Regions from separate parts of the Homo sapiens genome. Here all the other regions are linked to region 2. The links are contacts of gene promoters, found by promoter capture Hi-C in blood cells and fetal thymus (Javierre and others, 2016). All regions are on one chromosome and are shown on one strand. The core of a region is centred on a gene start or on the middle of the fragment in contact, and the rest is flanking DNA. Distances in the headings are between cores, read along the strand shown.

Region 1 (3,169 bases), core at 141-2,640, 260 kb before region 2:
TCATTTTATATCACTTTGACTCTGAACTATGTGACTGTAGTACCAATATATTTTTTAATTAAATTAAGGAAACAATAGATGGAATGTAAAATTTCTATCTTTATCAAAACAATATTTTTGCTACTGGGGTTAATAAAATCACTCTATGCTTGACTTCCATCTGGAATCTTGTTGTACTGTTGCACTGAAAACAGGCTCAGTTTTAGATTGGAGGAGTTGGGGGAGAGGAAAGGTAGGAAGAGAAATATATTTTGTCTTCTAGCAAATACGTTAGAGACACAGAAATAATTAAAATGTGGTCCCTGGCCTCCAGGAGCTCAATGACTAGTAATTGAATCAATCAATATTTAACATTTGATATAATATTAATGTACTCAGAATATCATTCACACTTATTCATATACATACATATGATATTTCAATTTGAGCAATTATAAACATTGCAAATTTTTCTATGTATTATTTACTGCTGCATAAAAAAGGCAACCATGTTCCTTTTTCTTTTCAGTTGAAATTCAGAATAAGAAACCATGCAGTAGATAGACAGAGATTAAAATATCAGCTTACTACTGATAAAAGCTAGCCTGGAGAATATTGCTCAGGTGGTAAAGAGGCACAATGATATGTTACATGCAAATGAATATCAATCATCTGTTGGAGTAAAATAAAAACTGTACTAACAGTTATGCAAAGATTCAGAGAATATATCACCTATCCACCCTGTTTGGGCAAAACACTTAAGAAAGTAATCAAGACAGGGACTTGAAGATGGAACCATGAGAAAAGGATGGTGGTGAGCAGAGAAATGACTCCAAGTGGGGGATGGGGGAGTGTCAAAGGCAAAGACACTTTAAACAGAACAGATACACTTCAAGGGAAAAACTAATAATCTAAAGTTCAAAATATTAAACTATCTTAACAAAATCTAGCAGCTACGTAACTAGATGCAAAACATGAAAATATTCGAAGGTCTCATCTTATTGGGATGAAGGGGAAAGCAATGGACAAATAGAATCTTAGTGCGGAAAAATATCTAAAAACTTGTTTTCCCATGAAAATGGCAAAAAAAGAAGATAACCATGAGAGGAACTGTAGCAGTCTTTTTCAGTTGAGTTTCCAAATCAATAGGGGGCGGGGTGTCGGGGAGAAGAATGAATTTCAAATCAGAAAAAGATAAGAAAGTCTGGGTGAAGCCAACAGTTAAATAAAGATGAAGTACAATGTAAGACAGAAGGAATAAATCACATACATCAATTGTTATAATAAATGTGATCAGCCTACATACTTCTATTAGGACAGAAACTATCACATTGAATCGAAATCTGTTTATACATTCTTTTTGCAAGAAGAACACTTTAAAACAAATAATAAAGATAAGTAGATAAAGGTAAAAAGTAAAGAGATTTGAGGAAAACTCAACAAAAAGAAAGCATGAATGGCAATATTAATGTCAGGCGAATTGAAATCAATAGTTATAAGTATATTTCCAAATAAATGGAATCATTGTTAAGATAAAAGCCTGTTTTTTGAAGAAAATAGAAGTAAAAAATCTGTATGTACCAATAATACAGAGCAAAATATGTAACTTTCAAACAATTAGAAAAAAAACTTGGATAAAAATATAATTAAAGTAGGCACTTTTAATACACACCTCTTAAGATTCTCACTTGTCTCTGTAATCCCAGCACTTTGTGAGGCCGAGACAGGCAGATCACCTGAGGTCAGGAGTTCGAGACCAGCCTGGCCAACATGGTGAAACCTCGTCTCTACCAAAAGTATAAAAAAAAATTAGCTGGGCATCGTGGTGGGTGCCTGTAATCCCAGCTACTCGGGAGGCTGAGGCAGGAGAATCGCTTGAACCTAGGAGGTGGAGGTTGAAGTGAGCCGAGATAGCGCCACTGCACTCCAGCCTGGGTTATAGAGCAAGACTCCATCTCAAAAAATAATAATAAATAAAAATTAAAAAAGAATCTAACTTGTCTAACAGACAGAAAATAGAGAGGCTCATAAAGGACTTGAATAATGTAATCAATACACTCAATTTCATATCTTAAAACTTCTCACTACACAATACATATTTTTACCTATAATCACCAAACACGTCCAAAAATGTTTTATGTTGGGCCACAAGGAAACCTTAATACATTTTGAGTAGGAGAGTTTTACCAAACATATTATTTAGTCATAAAAATACAGACAAAATAATTCCAACTACTTAGAAATTAAGAAATACAGTGATTTAAAAAAAGAAATACAGAGGTAAATAACTCTTGGAATAAACAGGAAATAAACAGATTTCACAGCATCTAAAAAGCAATAAGCAAGAAAAAACCATATCCCAGTTCCAAGGATGAAAAAGCCCAAAATGAACTACAGAAAAATATATAGCACTAAATAATAAGATAGTTTTTTAGATGTTAGTTTCTTAATTTCAAAAAATCATTATACAAATATGTTTTCACACAGATTTTATCAGTAGGTTGGGGATTTACTCACAGCTGCTTTTGCCTAGAGTACAGCAATGGGTTTAGAGCTTGTAACAACTTGTTAAAATTAAACATCCCAATATTGCCTGATTTCCTACTTTACATTGGAAATTATTATATTTATTTATTTATTTATTTATTTATTTATTTATTCTGAGACAAGTTCTTGCTCTGTCACCCAGGCTGGAATGCAGTGGCATGATCCCAGCTCACTGTCACCTCCATCTTCCAGGCTCTAGTGATCCTCCCGCCTCAGCCTCCCAAGTAGCTGGGAGACCACAGGCATGTACTACCATGCCCAGCTAATTTTTTAAATTATCTGTAGAGACAGGGTCTCCCTGTGTTGCTCAGGCTGGTCTTGAACTCCTGACCTGAAGGGATCCTCCTGCCTCAGCCTCCAAAAGTGCTGGAATTACAGGCATGAGCCACTGCCCCCAGCCACAGCAAGGATAATTATAATAAATAGCTTCTTTCTTTGTTTATAAGCTTATATTTAAACATATGAATCTGTAATTATTAGATAAAAATCTTTCTGGCATTATTTAAGTTGAAGGTAATAGAATACACTAAAAGCTTTTAAAACATGAACATTTGTCTAATAGAGAAATCTATTTCTATCCTGTAGGAATTTCCAGTCTATCACATATGACTTCAATCTCCAACTCAATAGCATGTCCTCCGCA
Region 2 (3,209 bases), core at 355-2,854:
AAAATAAAGAGGGGAAGCATTTGCCAACACAGAAACATCGGTTCTTAAAAATTATAATCACATGGGAGACATTTCTATAAACAATTTAGTTCTGAATTGCAATAACCCTAACCTTTCAAAGCACGTTTTGGCCTTGCCTTACCAAAAGCAAGAGCATTCCTGGTGCCTTTATATTTATACAAAGGACTGTGCTACTTTGTTTCTAGCGCAAACTGTTGGTTTACACAGTTAAAGATCTTCAAAACAAACTACCACACACAATTCACTTCCAATCATCCAAAGAGAAACGAACAAACAAGCATCTGTCACAAAGTCCCAAGAGTTTTCTAATTTACAATAACAGATATTTTTACGTTGTAGTTCAGAGGCTACCTCTGTTCGTTTCTGTATTTGGATTCACATACTATACATTTACTTAGCTTGTTAAGAGAGAAACCTCAGAAAATAAGCAACCGGCGATGACACCAGTCTATTTTAAGTTACTTATGAAGCCTACAGCTCAAGAACTTTTGGGAGAAGGGAGGGTAAGCCGTTTTTCCAAGGAGTTAAGAACAATTCGTGTTTGATAATTAATGATAGCAGCCCTAACAACCTCTTAGAATACATTATGGTGGGGCGGAAGTGAAAACGATGAGAGGGGGAAAAAAATAAAAAAAACCCGACTTGAAAATGGACAAGCAGACAGATTTACAAACCTTCAATTAAAGGAATTTTAAGATGAACTTCTCTCAAACGCCCTCCCTCACTCCCCACACCCGCTTCCTCCTCTCCTCCGGGAGGTCGGTGTAATGTGACTCATGACAAATTTTTTTTAAATAAATAAATAAATAAAAGACACACCCTCTGGGGGCTGAAACTGACATAATCGCCCCCACCCCACCCTCCGCCGACACACAACACACACCCCGCTGGTCCTCTCCCTTCTGCGGCTTCAGCCTCGTCCCTGCCCTCTCCTCTCCCCTCTCCCGTCCTGGACCTCCTCTCCCGGCGCAGAGAGGCGGCGCGGCGGCAGCTCGGGGGTATTCCGGGACTCCAGCCCTGCGGACTGGAGGCTACCTGGGGGGCGCGCGACCCCGGTGGCCGGGCCCTGGGGGAAGCGGACGCGAGGGGGGCGCCGGGCTGCGGCAGCGGCGGGCTCCCGGCTCCCTCGCCCATTTTCTCTCTCCCCTTCTATCGGTTTCCACCACCACAGCCACTTCCTGTATCGCAGCCCGACTCCCTCAGCCCGGCCACTCGCTCTGTCCCCGGTTGGGGCTGGGGTTGGGGCTGCGGTAGGGGCTCGGGTTGGTGGCAGCCGCTGAGGTCAGGGCAGTTCCCCACCCCGCCCAGTGGGCTGGTCACTCCGGCGGGTCCTCGACCCGGCCAGCGCCCGCCGGCCGCCAGAGCGCCTCACCTGTATGTAGTTGTTTTCACAGTAGTCTGCCACCCGAGTCAGGTTCTGGTAACTCTCGATCAGCGCCCTCTTGCCAGACGGGATCTCCTCCTCTAGTAACATCTGCAGCTCTGCCATTTTCCACCCCTCTGCATCGCTTCCTCTCGCGTTAAAGAGACAGAGGCAGCAAGGTCCGCCGAGGCTCCGAGCACCTCACAGCCCGGATACAAACCGCCTACCCGCCCTCCCGCCTGGTATTGTGGGACGGCACCTCCTCCCCTTCCTCCTCACTCTCTCCAGCCCCCCTCCACCCCCTTCGTGCAGCCGCCTGAACCTCGTTCTCTCGCGAGCGTTTATTTCTCCCACCCCCACGGACCGCGGGATTTTTTTTTTCTTTCGCACTGTCTTCTGGGAATTGTAGTCTCTCCTAGGCTAGGCGGCCCGTCCAAAGCGCATGCGCCCAGACACCTCCGAAAACCAACGCGGCAGAGCGCAGAAAGCGGAGACCGAGGGTGGAGGGAGGGGGCGGTGTTGGGGGGAAGTCCGGAGTTTCCTCACAGCTCCGGAAGGTGGCGCCACAGGGTGATACTGGGGGAATGAAATCGGTTCCCCAAGTTTCATGTGAAACTTGGCAGAACTTGGTTAATTAGGAAATGTCAGTGAATCAAGGACACCCATTCAGAGAAGGATTAAAAAGGGGACAGAGTACGGAAAACTAGATTTTTACTTCCTCTGCCTTCTTAGAAATAAAGCGAGTCAGGCTTTACTTTCTGAAGTTCCGCCCCCATCAATTCATTTAAAATTTAGCAAACATTTCTTGATTGCCAGCTGTTTACCAAGCAGCGTACTAGACACTGGGGGTACAAGTTGAGTACGAATACTCCGTACCCTTAAAGACTCAATTATAAAATAAACATACATAGCTTGTAGTGCTTTCCTGTCCTAATTTCTCTTTTCTCTGACTCTCCTTATCATGTAATCTTCCTACACTTTTAAGGTCATGTGCACGTTTTTTTAGGGGTGGGAGTTGTTTGCTTGTTTGAGACAGGATCTCACTGTTACCCAGCCTGGAGTACAGGGGCACAATCATGGGTCTCTGCAGCCTAGACCTCCTAAAGTCAAGCGATCCTCCTGCCTCAGCCTCCAGAGTAACTGGGACTACAAGCGTCGGTCACTACACCTGGCTGAGCTTTTTAATTTTTTATAGCGACAGGGATCAAATTATGTTGCCCTCGCTCGTCTCGAACCCCTGGCCTCAAGCAATCCTTCTGCCTCAACCTCCCAAACTGCTAGGATTACAATCATGAGCCACCCACCCTGATCCTTCGTTTTTTGCTCCTGGATTTTTGTTTTGTTTTGTTTTTATCACCTGCTTTGGAATAGTCTCAAAAGGCCCTATATTTCAAGCTCTTCACTTCAACAGGAACATTAAATGCTTCGGATATAATCAGCTATGAAAAGTGTTGTCCAAAGACTTTGGACATATGTTCATGTATCTCCATAAAGTCATTTAGAATCAAAATAACTAGGAGTAAAAACATCACTCAACCAAATTAAAAATTGCCAGCACCAGGTATTTATTGAATATTGCCTTTACTGGGGCCTTATTCAGGGCCCCAGGGAACCAGTTTCCCTCTTCGACCTCTGAAAGGAAAAACTCAGTTTCCTACTAAAAACGTTAACTTCCCCTTGCCACCAGATTCTCCATCAAGGAATCTATCAAAAGATAACTATTATACCTATTCCAGATATTATGGAAAGTAATACATTTATTATCTGGAATAGGTGTAATAGTTATCTTTTGATATTTATCGTTAACCCAAACACGACTTAATCC
Region 3 (3,150 bases), core at 402-2,901, 360 kb before region 2:
CTGTGTTTTCTCCTCCTATGGTGGAGGAGAGTTTAAGTGAACGTGTGTGGTCTCTCTGTACCTCATTCCTGCAGCCAGTGGGGGAAGTGTTCTGATGGGTCAGAGTCTGGGATTTTTGCAGGACCACATTTAAGTATTGTTACTGTAAGGCAAGAACAGGAAAGAAGCTGGGCATGATGGCTCACACCTGTAATCCCAGCACTTTAGGAGGCCAAGACAGGAGGCTCACATGAGCCCAGGAGTTCAAGACCAGCCTGGGCAGCATAGTAAGACCCCCGTCTCATTTTTGTTAAAAAAAAAAAAAAGAATAGGAAAGAGGCCCCTTTTAGTCTCTTGGACCTGCCTTCACACAAAGCCCTTTTGGTTTTTGCTATTTCTTTGTTGTGGCCAAGTGGATGTACTCATAGGTTTGCTTGGCTAAACAGCCCTGCCAACAGGTAGGTTCTCAAGATTGTAGGCTAAGGAAAAATTTTACTACGACAGACTGCATCCTCAAACAGCTTTTCTTCTCCAAGTAACTGGAGATTTCTTTATTTGATGTAATGACTTAAGTCATTACAGAATTTTATATATATATATTTATATAAATATATATTTTATATAATATATATTTAATATATATAAAATATATTTTATATATATTTAATATATATAAATATAATATATATATTATATATATATAGTGTGTGTGTTCACCATTACAAGAAATTATGTGTTCTTTATAAAAATTAACTACCTCATTATCATTGCTCTCAATTGACGTGGTCTGTTTCAAGATCTTCCTTCTAGAATAATTTTTAAGCTGTAATTTTCTATAGGGGAAAAATTACATAAAACATTTTCAAGTTACCATATGGTTTTCAGAGAACACACTAAGGGAGAAAATGTGTAAATGATACATGGTTTTTGACTTGCTGAGTAAAGTGTGCTACAGAAATGTTTGTATCATGAATAACTTTGATGGGGGGATCTTTTTTCACAGAGTTTAGGAGTTGACACTCTCCCTCCTCCTGACCCTAATCCACCCAGAGCTGAATTTAACTACAGTGTGGGGTTTAAAGATTTAAATGGTAAGCATAACAATTTCTTTTCTTAAGTAATTCAAAATCATAATGATGATTCAAATCAGTATGAAACTATAATTTGAAAACTAAATTAAAGGAACCTAAACATCATGATAAATATTGTTAAAATCATGGATTTCAGACTGGGTTTTACTGTGTCTAGATTGAATTGAGAGAGTCAAGAAGACATTTTCACCAATAATGAAAGGGAACACCATTCTGCATTTGTGAAAAGTCTCGAAATGATCTCGTGTTTTAAAGTAAGGGGAGTTTCTTCTTATTACTGAGCCCATAGAGTAACAAGGGGTAGTATACAAAAATATTAGTAAGGAAATGTCCCTTCAGTGATAGAAATCAACTATTTCATAATGATTAATAAATATGAATAGATACTTCATAATATTTTATTTAAAATATTTTTTAATTTATATATAATATATACTTATATGTAATTTAGTCTACTTGACATTTTTTCATTTTTCCTGAACTTGTCACTTTATTTTATTACCAAAAATCTCTCAGCCATGCATGATGGCTCACACCTGTGATCCCAGCACTTTAGGAGGCCAAGGCAAGAGGATTGCTTGAGCTCAGGAGTTTGAAACCAGCCTGGACAACATGGCAAGACCCCATCTCTACAAAAAGTAAAAAATAAAAAAATTAGCCAAGCGTGGTGGCATGTGCCTGTGGTCTCAGCTACTTGGGAGGCTGAGGCAGGAAGATCAAGGCTGCACTGAGCTGTGTTTCTGCCACTGCACTCCACCCTGGGCAACAGAGTGAGATTCTATCTCAAGAAAATAAAAAACAAAACAAAACAAAAACTCTGTTTATTTAAATGGAGACATCTTTAGGCCACGTGCTATTCATATTATAATAAGTCTTGAGGCCAGGCGCAGTGGCTCACGCCTGAAATTCCAACACTTTGGGAGGCCGAGGTGGGCAGATCACAAGGTCAGGAGATCGAGACCATCCTGGCTAACACGGTGAAACCCCATCTCTACTAAAAATACAAAAAATTAGCCCGGTGTGGTGGCAGGTGCCTGTAGTCCCAGGTACCTGGGAGGCTGAGGCAGGAGAATGGTGTGAACCCAGGAGGCGGAGCTTGCAGTGAGCTGAGATCGCGCCACTGCACTCCAACCTGGGCGGCAGAGCGAGACTCTGCCTCAAAAAAAAAAAGTCTTGAAACAATCACTTTCAAATTAGTGAGAACTCCCTGCAACTCTGGAAAAAGATTTCCCAAAGACTTGCTGTGCCTACCAAAAATGTGAAAAGCAAAATAGGAGAAAAGTTCAATTACAGAAATCCAGAATTCCAAGTTTTATTTCTGTCCTCTGGATTTTTTTTTTTTTTTTTTTTTTTCAGGCAGAGTCTCTCTCTGTCACCTAGGCTGGAGTGCAGTGGCGGGATCTCTGCTCACTGCAACCTCTGCCCCCTGGGTTCAAGCGATTCTCCTGCCTCAGCCTCCCGAGTAGCTGGGACTACAGGCATGCGCCATCATGACTGGCTAATTTTTGTATTTTTAGTAGAGACGGGGTTTTGCCATGTTGGCTAGGCTGGTCTCGAACTCCAGACCTCAGGTGATCCAACTGTTTCAGCCTCCCAAAGTGCTGGAATTACAGGTGTGAGCCATGGCACCCGACCAGGATTTCTTTGTTTCTATCATTTCTAGTAGTTTTGTAGTAAACCATTAAGTGCCAGTGACTCTTTCTTGATAAATTATAATATACATCTTGCGATTTTCTCTTTTTCCTACACTTTTTTTATTTGCCACATAAATTTATTATTCCTGCCAGTCATTTCCATTAAGATGGTAACATTCATGAAGTTTTTTTACAAAAGCAGGCCAGGCGTGGTGGCTCTTGCCTATAATCCCAGCACTTTGGGAGGCCGACGCTGGTGGATCACTTGAGGTCAGAATTTCAAGACCAGCCTGGCCAACATGATGAAACCCCATCTCTACTAAAAATACAAAACTTATCCAGGCAAGGTGGCGGGCACCTGTAATCTCAGCTACTCGGGAGGCTGAGGGACGAAAATCACTGGAAACCAGAAGGCGGAGGTTGCAGTGAGCCAAGATCATGCCACT
Region 4 (3,205 bases), core at 58-2,557, 380 kb before region 2:
TAAAATGAAACTCTTTATTTTACAGCATTATTAGAATATGCAAACATTTGAAAAAAAACAATAAAAATAAAAATTGACACGTAAGTGTATATATCTAAAAAGCAACATTGTAATCTTTATGATGATTAAATAACTTGCTGATGTATTTTTGCTACGCTTTTGGCTGCATATTCTTTTACCTTCTCTTCCTATAGGGAATAAATTTGAAATACAATTTTCTGTATAGATGATTTAGTGTCTCCTCCAGCATGGCTGATCAAAATTAATTTTTAGGATTGAGAGTTGAGAAGAAGTTGACTTTTGCTTGACAGCTCTAGATGGTAATGCCTCCTCTGTAACTTCCTCTGTGGTTTCTAGCTCTGGCGGTACTTCTTGCCAGTGAACAAGGCCTCAGAGAAGTGCAGCCTTTGTTCTTACTAACATGGCACCCTGTGGCATCCAAAGGCCCAGGCGACAGCTGGACTGTTTGGCCAGGACCACAGAACCATCAGTTCCCACCACCCTCCCAAATCCTGAGCTGGAGCTGGGGGTGACATAAGGTAGCCAGGAAGCTTGGATCAAGGTGACCCCGGGCAAGGAGCAGAGCAGAGCGTTTCCTTCAGATCTTCTCCTTGGATTGGGACATGAGATCTAATGTCCACGAAATGCATCATGGGAGGGCTTTTGCTGGACTCCAAGTAAAGTGGAGATAGTGCTGGTAGTCGCCTGACCCCACTCCAAGACCTAGGAACCCTGACCCAGGTGACCTCCCAGCAACAGAACAGTGTTGTGTTGTGTGCTGCTGCTGGGGTGCCAGAGGAGACATGTGGCATCAGAAGGGTCCTGCAAGTGAGAAGCCCTGAAATGTAAGCTTCTTTGTTGGCTTCAAGGTACATTGGCCTCTGTGAGGAGGAAAACCAGGAAAGAAAACTGTCAGGAAAGCCAAGTGAAGAAAATATTTCCAGGAGGGAGTGATCAATAATATTAAAGGCTGTATAAGATGCTGACTGGGAACTAACCATTGGATTTCACAACAGAGAGATCATTGGTAATCTCTTCTTTCAAAATAACTTTAATATTGGAATGGTTGAGCTGCTTCTTTTTTTTTTTTTTTTTTTTTTTTTTGGTAAACATGGGATTTCCCCATGTTGCCCAGGCTGGTCTCTAACTCCTGGGCTCAAGTGATCTGCCTACCTCGACCTCCCAAAGTGCTGGGATTACAGGCATGAGCCACCATACACCACAGATTGTTGGTAATCTTGGCACACAGTTTGGTGACATAGTGCAAACAAAAGTCCAGTTGAGATAGATTCATGAGAAAATAAAGACAAGTAGGGGACAGTGAATTGACCTAACTATTCACAGGACTTTTGTTTCTAAAAAGAAATGTTCATGATTTTTATTTATTAATACAACATGATAAACAGAGTATTTTCTATTTGTATCTCTTCAAAAAATTCTAAATTGCATTGTCCCTCTGGTTTTAGGTCACAGTAGGTCCTAAATACAAAAGCAGTTCCCCATTCCTTATATAGACACCCAAAGTAGAAAAAAAAAGGGAACTTAAAATAATCTAGAGACTTGGCACTCTCTTTCCAACCCGTGGGCATCCAAGTGAAACTAGTCTACAACTTGTCTCCCAGAGCTGGAGGCCAGACAGACAGATGGAAGTGGGGATGTTGGGTTCATATGTGCTGACCTCTGTTGTCCTGTGTCAAGTGTTCTTGCACTTGAGTCCTGGGGAACATTTTTGGGTGTTGTTCAGTTCTCTCACTTTTTTCTAACTGAAGCTTGACTTAGCAGAGTGTCCCCACCTTGTCCCACCCACTTATTTCCAAATTGCTTTGATTTTATGCAAAACATAAATTTTTCACTAACTTTATGGTTTGCATAAAATCACAGCAATTTGGAAATAAGCACATTTAAAAATTGTATCTTTTATTTTTTGTTTTGTTATTTTTGTTTTTATTTTTTAATTTTAGAGACAGGGTCACACTTTGTCACTCAGGCTAGAGGGCAGTAGTGCTGTCATAGCTCACTGTAGCCATGAGCTCTTGCGCTCAAAGGATTCTCCCACCTCAGCCTCCTGAGTAGCTGAGACCACAGGTGCGCACCACTATGCCCAGCTAATTTTTTTGGCAGAGGGGATAGAGATGGGGTCTTGCTATATTGCCCAGGCTGGTTTTGAACTCCTGGCCTCAAGTGATCCTCCCACCTCTGCCTCCCAAAGTGCTGAATTTCAGGTGTAACCCACCGCACCTGGCCTAAATCATATTTTTTAAAATGTGGTAGCCCATCTCATTACGTGTGTGTGTGTGTGTGTGTGTGTGTGTGTGTGTGTGTGTGTCTTTACTGCAAAATTCTAAGACTTTTCAAAGCACTCTCTTAGTATTTTTTTAAATTACTGAAATAAATCATTTCATTTAATGATTAGTTTTTTATTTAAAATGTTATTTACAGGTAACTTTTGCCATGACAATATTGCTTACAAAAGGACCCTGTTGTCTTGGCTGTCCCTTCTGTGTGACCCTACCTATGTATATACACATGTCCATATGAATTTTGTTTGTGACTCACTGCATATTAGTCTGAATTGATCATATGACCACAGTCATTGTCCTTTTGATTCAGTAACTACTTGCTAGCCTATTAAGATTTTCACCGATCTCAGGGGTACAGTGCAAAGTTGGTTAAGTTGGCCCAAGAGGTTTCTTCACCTTAGTTCTCTGTTGAGTGAATTATTTGATATAATCCGTAACTTTAGAGATGCTTCTGTTTCCTGTTTTACGCTACACAGAAGCCTCGGCTTCCCCTTTCTCCTCCCTCAAACGTTGCAAGAACCTTTAACCATATGCTGTGTTATTCTGTGAACCACTTCCTCTTGATAAAACGCTTTCATTGCATTTTGAAAAAATACAACACTGAAGGAATCAGGTAAAATTCAATATTCTAAGTTATTTTCAATCACACTGTACACAGGTGACTTCACAGTTTCCACCAGCATTTGCGAGCATCCGAATTCTGTAGTGCGTATTTCATCCTAAGGGCAATCCCATTCATAAGCTTTTTAAAATTTTTTTCTCCTCTTTTGTATCTGTAGTTGTAATATGTCTACTGATTTATTTCCTAGAAAAAAATGTTGCCAGATGGTTTCTAATTAAAAAATAATAAAAATATCAAAGCAAATTGATACTTGGAGAGCCTCAGATTTTTGAAACTTATTTCT
Region 5 (3,330 bases), core at 275-2,774, 420 kb before region 2:
TCTGGCCTATATGTAAAAAGGCAAATTTCCATCTTATTTGAAAACTGAGATAAGAAACAGCCCAAACTTGAACAGGTCAATATTATATTTTGAAATCTTTAAATTGCTATTTCTCAAGAAATATAACTTTGTAATATGAATTACTTTATGGCATTACTTTAAATCTTAAACACAATACTAGGTTTTATAGTATTTATTACATTTTTTGTATTTTTATATCCTAAGAATGTTCACCAGTTATCCACTATTGATTTGCCTTTTTTCACTCATCAATCAAAGTTTTAAATAGTTCCATATTATTATTAGAATGAGCTACTTATAAAGTTCATTGCCATAAATGTCTGTTTGATATGTCACTTTGAATTTTCTTTAAGCCATCTTACTTCCAAAGAGCATTATTATTTTCATTTTCTTCTAATTCTCTTCAATTTTATTTTAATTATTTTTATGCCTAAAACATTTTAGTGAGTCCACAAATCTTATAATAAATTGTCTGCGTTCCATAGCCTATTGGACCACAATCTTTACAATTTTATAGGACCCCATGAGTTTATATTATGGAGACTACGGTGATCTTAGGAATGCTTGCCTCAAAACAGAACAATTTTTATTAACACAACAGGTATCTTCTCAGTATGAAAATGAATGTGTGTGTTTTATGTCACTGCTGTCATCTAAGAGGCAAGTCACTTAAAGCTTAAGCATTTATTATAAATTCATGTACATAATAAATGCCAGATTTTAAAGTGTAAGATTTCTACACTGGTTGCATGGGGATTTTAAAATACATATTACACTTTTAATTATCGTGAGAAACATGACTTTTAGAGAAAACTGCTAGATATCTGGAACAGTAATCATTAGATTTCTCTTGAAAAGAGAGAACTAGCCGCATGAAGGAATGCCATTACACCTATACCCAGTTAAAGAGACTAGATTGTACCTGCAGCTTGGAAGGGCAGACCCTGAGGACAGCTTTTGGGGGACTAGAGGATGTGACCTGCCACCACTGCATCATCATTTCCTAGCCAATTTGTGATCCCAAAATGAGGACTCCAAAGAGGCTGGCTAAATGTGCAGAATATATTAATCTCACTGAGTGGTACCATGGAAATATCACAAGCCCCTGAGATCCCGTTGGCTCCACTGGTCCCAAACCTCAGGCATGAGCAAGCAGAGAGGTGACACCACTCCAAGGCATCACACGTTCTCATTATTCCACATATTCTGGAGCTTGATTCCGTGACTCAGTTTTAAAACATTTCCTGAGCGTTGACCATGAACTTGAATAATTAAGAATCATAAGAGCTATTTTCTTTCTTCTCTGTCAACTCAGTTTTCTCTTTGATCATCACATAGTAATAGCAAATAATAATTATTATAATGTTTACTTATAAATACTACCAGGCCCTGTACTAATTTAGATGTGTCATCTTGTTAATCATCACATCAAGATGAAAGCACAGAGAGGGTAAGAAACTTACGCAGGAAGTAAGAAACAGAGCTGTTGTTTGAACTGGGCCATCTGATGGTGGCACCCATGAAAAAACCTGGGGCCTTTCCACAATGAGTTTATAGTCTAGAAGAGGAGATGTAACTAGATGTAAGAGGAGATGTAGAATTCCATGCGGAACCAGAGTTGAGTGCTGTGGGACTACATATCAGGGTCCCTGGTCTCCCCAACCAGGGTCACGGGAGAAGGTTGAATAGAAGGAAACCAAGCAAAGAACTTATCGTGTTATCATGGGAAGACAAGTTAATATAATCAACTTTGAAGTTATTATCTTTACGTGTGCCTTGAAAAAAGAATCTGCTTTGTTAGCAATCGTGTGTTTTCATTTTTGTGTTTATTTTATTCTAATCCCACATGACAGCCGGCTAGGTTGATTAAATCAACAAGCAAGCAGTGAGTTTAATATTTTTTCTAATTCTGTTGGGGATCTTTTTGATTTAGTTTCATGTTACAGACTCATCAGTGAGATGGTTGTGGGCTGGGATGGGGGATAAAAGCTAAATCACACAGCAACTGTGTTTCCCCAAACCGACTGGAGGGTTTGCATCCAGAGAGCTACATCACATCAAACTGGAGAGAAACAAAAAATGATATTAGAGCAAGTGAATCATGACTAGATTCATTTCTTCCTTCATGTTTTATTATGAAATGTTTCATATCTACAAAAGATGATGTATATATGTAAATAACAACAAATAATAATAAAGCCAACATCTGGGTACCTATCACCCAGCTTAAGAAGTAGAATATTTACCAAGACATTTCCTGGTCTCCTTCCAATAACATTTCCCCATTTCCCAGCTAGAGGTAATCATTATTCTGAATGTGCTAATTTTTAAAAAGCTTTTAGGAAGCATGTACATACATTTGTAAAGGATGGTGTCAAACTGGGGATCAAAGAACACTGGCATGGCAGACTGGAGTCAGGTTCTCCACCGACTCTGGGTGGTCACAAGCAGCTTGTGCTGTTCAGTAAAGACAGCTTACTTTAATTGAATAGCATAAAAACAACATGTATTAGAAATAGTTAATAGTAAGTACCACGGAAATTGTGCTATCTTAGACATTGATAAAGTGACCAAGAATCATCAGTAAAGAACTATGAGTTTTAAGTGGAATAAAGAATATGTGGCCGGGCGTGGTGGCTCACACTGGTAACCCCAGCACTTTGGGAGGCTGAGGCAGGAGGATCACTTGAGGTCAGGAGTTCAAGACCAGCCTGACCAACATGGTGAAACACTGTCTTTACTAAAAATACAAAAAAATTAGCCTGGCATGGTGGTGCATGCCTGTAATCCCAGCCACTCGGGAGGCTGAGGCAGGAGAATCGCTTGAACCCAGGAGGTGGAGGTTGCAGTGAGCCAAAATCATGCCATTGCACTCCAGCTTGGGCAACTCTATCTCAAAAAAAAAAGTTTCAAGAGCGAAACTCCATCTCAAAAAAAAAAAATTACTTATATGAGGAAAATAAATAAAGGAGGCAAAAGAAAAAAAGAATATGTAACTTAGGAAGTCATCTCCACTTTATTTATTTATTCATTCATTCATTCATTTTTGAGACAGGGTGCAGGCTGGAGTGCAGCAGCACAATTAAGGCTCACTGTAGCCTCAACCTCCTGGGCTCAAGCAATCCTCCTGCCTCAGCCTCTCATGTAGCTGGGATCACAGGTGTGCGTCACCATGCCCAGCTAATTAAAAAAAAAATTTTGTAGAGACAGGGTCTCATTTTGTTGCCCAGGCTGGTCTCGACCTCCTGGGCTCAAGTGATCCTTCCACCTCGGGCTCTCAAAGTCTTGGGATCACAGACATGAGCCACT
Region 6 (3,325 bases), core at 330-2,829, 310 kb before region 2:
TTTTTAGTAGAGACAGGGTTTCACCGTGTTGGTCAGGCTGGTCTCGAACCCCTGACCTCATGATCCACCTGCCTCAGCCTCCCAAAGTGCTGGGATTACAGGTGTGAGCCACCGCACCCGGCCTCAACTTTTATTCTCATAGTTTAATTCATTCATTCAACAACATTCCTTTCAGCCAGGCACAGTGGCCTACACCTGTAATTCCAGCACTTTGGGAGGCCGAGGCAGGGGGATTGTTTGAAAGCAGAAGTTCAAGACCAACCTGGGCAACATTGTGAAACCTCGTCTCTACAAAAAATTTAAAAACATTAGCTGGGCATGGTGGCGCACATCTGTGGTCCCAGCTCCTCAGGTGGCCGATCGGGGTGGGAGAATCACTTGAGCCCAGGCGTTGGAAGTTGCAGGGAGCCATGATTGCACCACTGCACTCCAGCCTGGGCAACAGAGGCAGACCCTTTCTCTACGAATGTATACATATATCTTTTGAATTTTCTTTATTCAGACTTGGGGGTACATCGGTAAACAAAACAAAGGCCTCTGGCTTTGTGGAGTTTGCATGCTAGCAGGCTTCTCCCTGCACCTCTGTGGAAACTGCTATTATTAAGATTTCCAAAGAATAGTGGCTTTCTCCAGTCCTCATGGCATCTTTTGCATTGATGACAGCATCCTCATTTTATGGTCTTCAAACTGGACCCCTACTCTGCTTCTGCTGGTGCCTCCTCCTTCCCTACACACTGTAATGCTCTCCAGGGTCCTAAATTCAGTTCTCACCAGACTCCCCGTGCTCTCGCTGAGATCACATTCACAGCCACAGCTCCAACCATTGTCTGTGTTGGAGACAAATAATTCCTAATCCGTAGTGGACAGTCTCACCTTCTTCCCTAGCTCCACACGTGCAGTAACCACATGTCCAAGGGGTACCTCTATCATGCACACTGATTTCAACATTTCCTCCACCCCCTGCTTTCCACAGTCCCTCAAGGATGAATGGCACCATCACCTACTCTATTCGTTTTCTGGAGCTGCTGTAACAAACTGCTGGTAACTAGATAACTTCACAGAAATTTATTTATTGAAGAGTTCAGGAGACCAGAAGTCCCAAATCAAGGTGATATTGGAATCAGAAGTCCAAAATCAAAACCAGAGTTGTGTTCCTTCTGAGGGCTCAGAGGCAAAATCTGTTCCATGCCTCCACGCCTCTTCTAGCTTCCGGCAGCTCCCAGCAGTGCTGGCATTCCTTGGCTTGCAGCTGCGTGTGCCAATCTCTGCCTCCCTCAACATGTGACTATCTTCTTTCTTTGTCTTTGTCTGTGTCTGTTTCTTCTCTTCTTATAAGAACGTGTCATTTTGGTGGTTGTTTTTGTTTGCTTGTTTTTTGTCGGTTTTGGTGTTTTTTGTTTTCTTGAGACAGGGTCTCACTCTGTTGCTCAGGCTGAGTGTGGTGGTATGATCACAGCTCATGGCAGCCTCAACTTCCTGGGCTTAAGTGATCCTCCTGCCTCAGCCTCCCAAGTAGCTGGGACTACAGGTGCACACCACCACACCTGGCTAATTTTTTGTATTTTTTGCAGAGATGGGGTTTAGCTATGTTGCCCAAGCTGATCTTGAGCTCTTGGGCTCAAGCAATCCACCCACCTTGGCCTCCCAAAGTGCTATGATTACAGGTGTGAGCGACCACACCCGGCTTACACCAGTCTCTTTGGATTTAGAGCCCACTTTCATCAGGATGACTTCATCTTAACTTTATTACATCTGGCAATGACCCTATTTCCAAATAAGGTTACATTCATAGGTACCAGGAGTGAGTACCATAGCTTTTAGGAGGAGGGAGATAATTAAACCCATAACATCCACCTACTCTACCAAGCTAGAAACAGAAAAAGCATGCCTGATTTTCTTCCTGTCCCCATTTCTCGTTAATCTATGAGCAAGTTCTTCTATTTCCCATCAAGATCTCCCATTGAGCCCTCCCTCAGTTCGATCTTATTCTTCACTCCAGATCCATCTTCCTCATAGCCCCCAGTGACTTCCTGTGTCACTGTGCTGTTTTAAAATGTCCAGTGCCCCCCACTGCCCAGGGGATCATGTCTAGATTCTAGTTTGACTCAAGGGTCTTTACTCAGATTCCACACCAGCTTAATTTCTGCTTCTTCATTCCATGGTTTCCAGACCTCAGCCATACAGAATTTCTCCATGTTCTCCAAATATATTACAGCATTCTGTCGCTTCTTCCAAAGACCCTCTCTTGGCCCATTTTCAAACTTTTAGTATGGAACATACTATTTCATAATCACATTACATATGTGATTTGATTACATCAGGTGTTTACATACATCTCTCCCTAAAACACCTCCAGGGAGCATTGCCCAATTAACACATGAGCTCTCTTATTCCTCTTTTTGTTGTTTTTTTGTTTGTTTGTTTGAGGTAGGGTCTCCTCCAGCCCAGTCTGGAGCACAGTGGCACAATCATGGCTCACCGCAGCCTCGAACACCTGGTTCCATCTATCCTCCCACTTCAGCATCTCTAGTAGCTGGAACTACAGGTGTGTGCCACAACACCTGGTTAATTTTTGTACTTTTTGTAGAGACAAGGTTTCACTGTGTTGCCTAGGCTGATCTCAAATTCCTAGCCTCAAGTGATCTGCCTGTCTTGGCCTCTCAAAGTGCTGGGATTACAGGTGTGAGCCACGGGGCCCTGCCTCTCTTACTCCTCTTAATGTACCTAGGAATTAGCATATTTCTTGGCACCCAGAGATATTTATTGAACAAACAGGACCTTGGTTCTTTCACTACCTTTGGCCTTGGATAAATTGCTCACCCTCTCTCACCCTGTTTTCTCATTTCGTAAGCTCAGAGGGTCTATAAGTGCCCTTTAAGCAGTGACAGTCCACAATCGCCCTGACCTCTGTGTGCTGTTCTCATGTCCCAAGAGAGCTTCTCTCTCTTTATGATCGGGAACAATCAAATCAATTGCGAAAGAGCCTGGCCAGTGACACTGCACCAGCATTTTCCTGAAACCTCTTTGCAAATGATTATTCAGCAAAAGGCTCGGTTAGGCAATAAGCTCCTTGGCAAAGTCTCAAGACACGGTGGAGAACAAGCCCAGTGACTTGCTCTATAATGTCTGCAAGGCTGAACGATTTCTGCATCACCAAGGGAGCCAGAAAGGAGCTTTTTCCCATTAGGTAGCTCATCTTAGAACCATAAAATCTGAGGATTGCTAGAGACCTTAGAGGTCATAGAATCCTCCTGTATACATCCATAGCACACATATAGTGTAAGGAAGGAACTTGGTGAGACCTGACCTATAGCAAGGTTTATCA
Region 7 (3,641 bases), core at 35-2,534, 280 kb after region 2:
TTCAAGCAACTATCCTGCCTCAGCCTCCTAACCTCAGGTGATCCACCTGCCTTGGCCTCCCACAGTGCTGGGATTATAGGCGTGAGCCACCGCGCCTGGCCTATTTTTTATGTTGATAGGGGATAAAGGTAAATAGAGAAGTCAGAGGGTTATACAATATAATTTAAAAAACTGAGTATCAACTCTGATAAACTGTGATTTCAAAAAAAAAAAAAAACCCAACCAAGTAATTAAAATAGATTGAATCTACACAACTGATTTTTACATGTTTTTGGTAATTACATAATGTTTTTGAAAAAAGGGTAAGTGTATCAAATTAGTGTCTTCTAATTTCTCAAGCCCCAATCCCACTTCCCAGAAGTATAACCTGTTAACAATTCTGACTACCCTTGTATGCATGCACACAGGTGCTCTTTCTATAAAAACTACTCTAGAAATAGTACCTAATTTTTTGCAATTTTCATTTTTCGTGCATATTTTTCAGAACAGAACAGTGCATTCAGTTTAATGGCTGTTTACACTTTTCCAATTTATCACAGTGCAATTCATTCAACCATTTCCCTGAACATTATTTGTTTTCTGGTTTTTATTGCTGGAAACAATACTGTGGTGAACATTCTTATATATGTATGTCAGCAGATGTAGACTGAATTCCTGAAAGAAACACTGTTAAGGTTTAAATTTTGTTTGACACTAAGAGACTACTTTCTAAAAAAGGCTGTTATCAATTTATGTGCCCACCAATGCTTATGAGTTTCCTTTTCTTCATATCCTTGCCGACACTAAATAATATGAATCTTTTAAATTTGTGCAAGTCTGACGGGCAAAAATAACAGTACCTTGTTTTACTTTGCATTTCCCAGATTACAAGTGTGGGAAAATTTTGAAAAGCTTCCTCTGTATTTTTATTGACTATTTTTATTTTTATTTCTTTAGTAAATTGACCATGCATGTCCTTTGCACATTTTTCCATTTTTATTTAGATAATATGGATGTTACAGATAGTAATCTTTAGTTATATATATTGTAAACATTTATTTTAATGTGTCTTTGTCTTTCGATCATATACAGTAATTTATTAGCTCAGTGCAGCCATACCTTTGCTGTGTTTTCTGCATTTTAACTTGATTAGAGTTTCATTGCCAAACTAAGATTTTAAAGGTAGTCTACTTACTTCTAATATTTTCAGTTTTATATTTTTGTTTTCAACCCTTTAACATATTTGGAACTTTTTTTTTTGGTATGATGTAAGAAAAGAACTTGATTTTTCCAAAACAGCCACTTAGGCTGATAACATTTGATAATCCATCATTTGCTTATTGATTCAAAATTCTTAATTTTGTTGCACTGATGTATGTCAGCACTAGGTTAAATTTTTTAATTTTAGTTATTTGTAATACTACACTACTGATTTCCATGGCTAAATATCTGTATTTTCATGTACTTAAGTAGGATAAAATCCCCTTCATTAGTATTCTTTTAACATGTACTCAGTTATTCCAAATTAAGTTTAAAATCAACTTCTCGATTTCCCAAGTGGGTCATTAGAGTTTTGATTGGGGTTGTATTGACTTTACAAATTTGGGTGTAAATTGATACTGTTGTAATACCTAGTTCTTCCAAATAGGATTATGGCCTTATTTTATTTCACTCAGTTCCTCTTTCATTTCCTTCAGTAAAGCTTCATACACACACGTGTGTATGTGTGTATATATCTATGTTGTATATTTCCTGTCAGGATAAAACATTTACTGGGTTTTAAAGAAATTGTAAATAAAACCTGCCGCTAGAATATAAGAAAGCTATTGATTTTTATGCATTTATCTGGTATGGACAATGCAGTGAACTCTTTATTTCAACAGCCTTTTGGATGATTTTCTTGAATTTTCTGGTAAACAATCGTTATCACCTGCAAATTATAATTTTACTCCTTCTTTTGACTTACATATGGCTCATTTCGTTTTCTTTTAAATCATATTGTTCAGAATCTCCAAATTAATGCTGAAAAAAAAACCAGGATACTCCATGTTTCTCAAATTAACAGGAACATAATAGATGTTTAATAAATTTTAAGTTTCCTTCCATTTCTAACTTTCTAAGAGTTTTCAGGAAGCACAGCAATTAAAATATATCATGTCTTTTTATCATACATTGAAATAATGATATTTTTCTTTTCTAATCAATATGATAAATTGACTTACTAATAATCTTAAATCACTTTTGTATTCCTTAATCATGATATAATATTTTTAGCACATTTCTAGATTTGCTTTCTTCAGATTTTATTTAGGATTTCTGTTAAGTGAAACACATCTATTTTGTTCCTCTGTCGTGCTTGCGTGTGTATATACATTCAGACACAGATACATACATATATACATATATATATTTTTTAGATAGGATCTTGCTGTCACTCAAGCTGAAGTACGGTGGCATGATCATAGCTCACTGTAACCTTGAACTTTGGGCTCAAGCAAACCTTTCACCTCAGCCTCCCAAGTATCCAGAACTACAGGGGCATGATACCACGACGGGCTAATTTTTGTTGCTGTTGTTGAGATGATGTCTGGGCTTGTTTTGAACTCCTGGCTTCAAGCGATCATCCCAAAGTGTTGGGATTACAGGTGTGATCCACAGTGCCTGGCCTTATGCTAATACTAAAAAGTTTTACTAACAGCAATCTCATGGAATAAATAGGGAACTCTATCTTTTTCTTTTTAATAAGGTTTTAAATTAAAAAGAAACTCAAGATTCTAGAAGAATGCAGCCATAAAAATTATCTGAACCTAGTGCCTCTGGGGCAAAGGGACAATATTTTTAAAATACTGTCTTTTAAACTTCATGGTTATTATCCTATCTCTTCTTGGGTTAACTTTGTTAATTAATTGCTTAGACAATTGTCCATTTCAACATATTTTTATTTTTGACATAAAGTTACACATACTACCTTGCAATTTTAAAACCTTCACATATCCATGGCAATTCCCACTCATACTTCTAATACTGTCTGTATTTTCCTGTTGTTTCTTAATCAGAATTGTTAAATTGTTCCTTTTTTTATACTAAATTTGTTTTTGGTTTAATTAAAACTATTTCCACCTATTATTTTAAAATGTTTGCTTTGTGTGTATTAATTTCTTCTATTATTTTTCAGAAATTCAATTTATTTTCTATCTTTATATCTTAAATTTTTTTTTCTTTTTGAGACAAAGTCTTGCTCTGTTGCCCAGGATGGAGGTGCCATCTTGGCTCACTGAAACTTCCATCTCCCAGGTTCAAGCGATTATCCTGCCTCAGCCTCCCGAGTAGCTGAGATTACAGGCATGTGCCACCACACCTGGCTAATTTTGTATTTCTTTTTTAGTGGAGAACGGGGTTTTACCATGTTGGCCATGCTGGTCTTGAACTCCCGACCTCAGGTGATCCACCTGACTCAGCCTCCCAAAGTGCTGGGATTACAGGCATAAGCCACTGCATCCAGCCTGATTTCTCAGTAAATTATATAACGCCCTCAATGTCATTTTGTCCTCACCAAGAGTCTGATATACAGATTTTCACTGTGGTTCATTACTGAGTGTCTGTAATCCCGGTTTTATTTCCATTCAGTCGTGAGACATTTAGAAAAGGGTTTTAAAAATTTC

What was found. The method cuts DNA at HindIII sites, captures the fragments that hold promoters and counts their contacts. A CHiCAGO score of 5 or more calls a contact.
Region 1: a contact is called between a fragment that was not itself captured here and the fragment with the promoter of ABI1 in region 2, in 1 of 17 cell types (total CD4 T cells). The highest score is 5.9, in total CD4 T cells.
Region 3: a fragment that was not itself captured here is called in contact with the fragment with the promoter of ABI1 in region 2 in 1 of 17 cell types (neutrophils); the score reaches 5.3 in neutrophils.
Region 4: a contact is called between a fragment that was not itself captured here and the fragment with the promoter of ABI1 in region 2, in 11 of 17 cell types (fetal thymus, total CD4 T cells, total CD8 T cells and 8 more). The highest score is 12.6, in fetal thymus.
Region 5: a fragment that was not itself captured here is called in contact with the fragment with the promoter of ABI1 in region 2 in 4 of 17 cell types (fetal thymus, total CD4 T cells, total B cells and 1 more); the score reaches 6.9 in fetal thymus.
Region 6: a fragment that was not itself captured here is called in contact with the fragment with the promoter of ABI1 in region 2 in 1 of 17 cell types (fetal thymus); the score reaches 6.9 in fetal thymus.
Region 7: a fragment that was not itself captured here is called in contact with the fragment with the promoter of ABI1 in region 2 in 3 of 17 cell types (naive CD4 T cells, megakaryocytes and fetal thymus); the score reaches 6.2 in naive CD4 T cells.

Annotation. Positions count from the first base shown.
Region 1 is chr10:26,598,562-26,601,730 of GRCh38, forward strand. No RefSeq gene overlaps it. Among named protein-coding and RNA genes, the nearest start is that of FAM238A, 10 kb to the left of the region's middle. The HindIII fragment of the contact is 3,160 bases long and covers 1-2,970 here.
Region 2 is chr10:26,859,354-26,862,562 of GRCh38, forward strand. It overlaps ABI1 (abl interactor 1), which reads right to left and starts at 1,605. Exons shown (of 11, transcript NM_001012750.3): 1 at 1,394-1,605. The coding sequence starts at 1,510. RefSeq lists silencers at 978-1,127, 1,238-1,327 and an enhancer at 1,648-1,847. The HindIII fragment of the contact is 3,622 bases long and covers 1-3,209 here.
Region 3 is chr10:26,495,322-26,498,471 of GRCh38, forward strand. APBB1IP (amyloid beta precursor protein binding family B member 1 interacting protein) reads left to right here. Exons shown (of 15, transcript NM_019043.4): 4 at 983-1,070. Among named protein-coding and RNA genes, the nearest start is that of APBB1IP, 59 kb to the left of the region's middle. The HindIII fragment of the contact is 5,009 bases long and covers 1-3,150 here.
Region 4 is chr10:26,479,543-26,482,747 of GRCh38, forward strand. The region is part of intron 2 of APBB1IP (amyloid beta precursor protein binding family B member 1 interacting protein); the gene reads left to right. Among named protein-coding and RNA genes, the nearest start is that of APBB1IP, 43 kb to the left of the region's middle. The HindIII fragment of the contact is 919 bases long and covers 849-1,767 here.
Region 5 is chr10:26,440,497-26,443,826 of GRCh38, forward strand. The region is part of intron 2 of APBB1IP (amyloid beta precursor protein binding family B member 1 interacting protein); the gene reads left to right. Among named protein-coding and RNA genes, the nearest start is that of APBB1IP, 3.8 kb to the left of the region's middle. The HindIII fragment of the contact is 1,660 bases long and covers 695-2,354 here.
Region 6 is chr10:26,553,197-26,556,521 of GRCh38, forward strand. The region is part of intron 11 of APBB1IP (amyloid beta precursor protein binding family B member 1 interacting protein); the gene reads left to right. Among named protein-coding and RNA genes, the nearest start is that of LINC03028, 24 kb to the right of the region's middle. The HindIII fragment of the contact is 8,879 bases long and covers 1-3,325 here.
Region 7 is chr10:27,136,822-27,140,462 of GRCh38, forward strand. The region is part of intron 4 of YME1L1 (YME1 like 1 ATPase); the gene reads right to left. Among named protein-coding and RNA genes, the nearest start is that of YME1L1, 16 kb to the right of the region's middle. The HindIII fragment of the contact is 790 bases long and covers 890-1,679 here.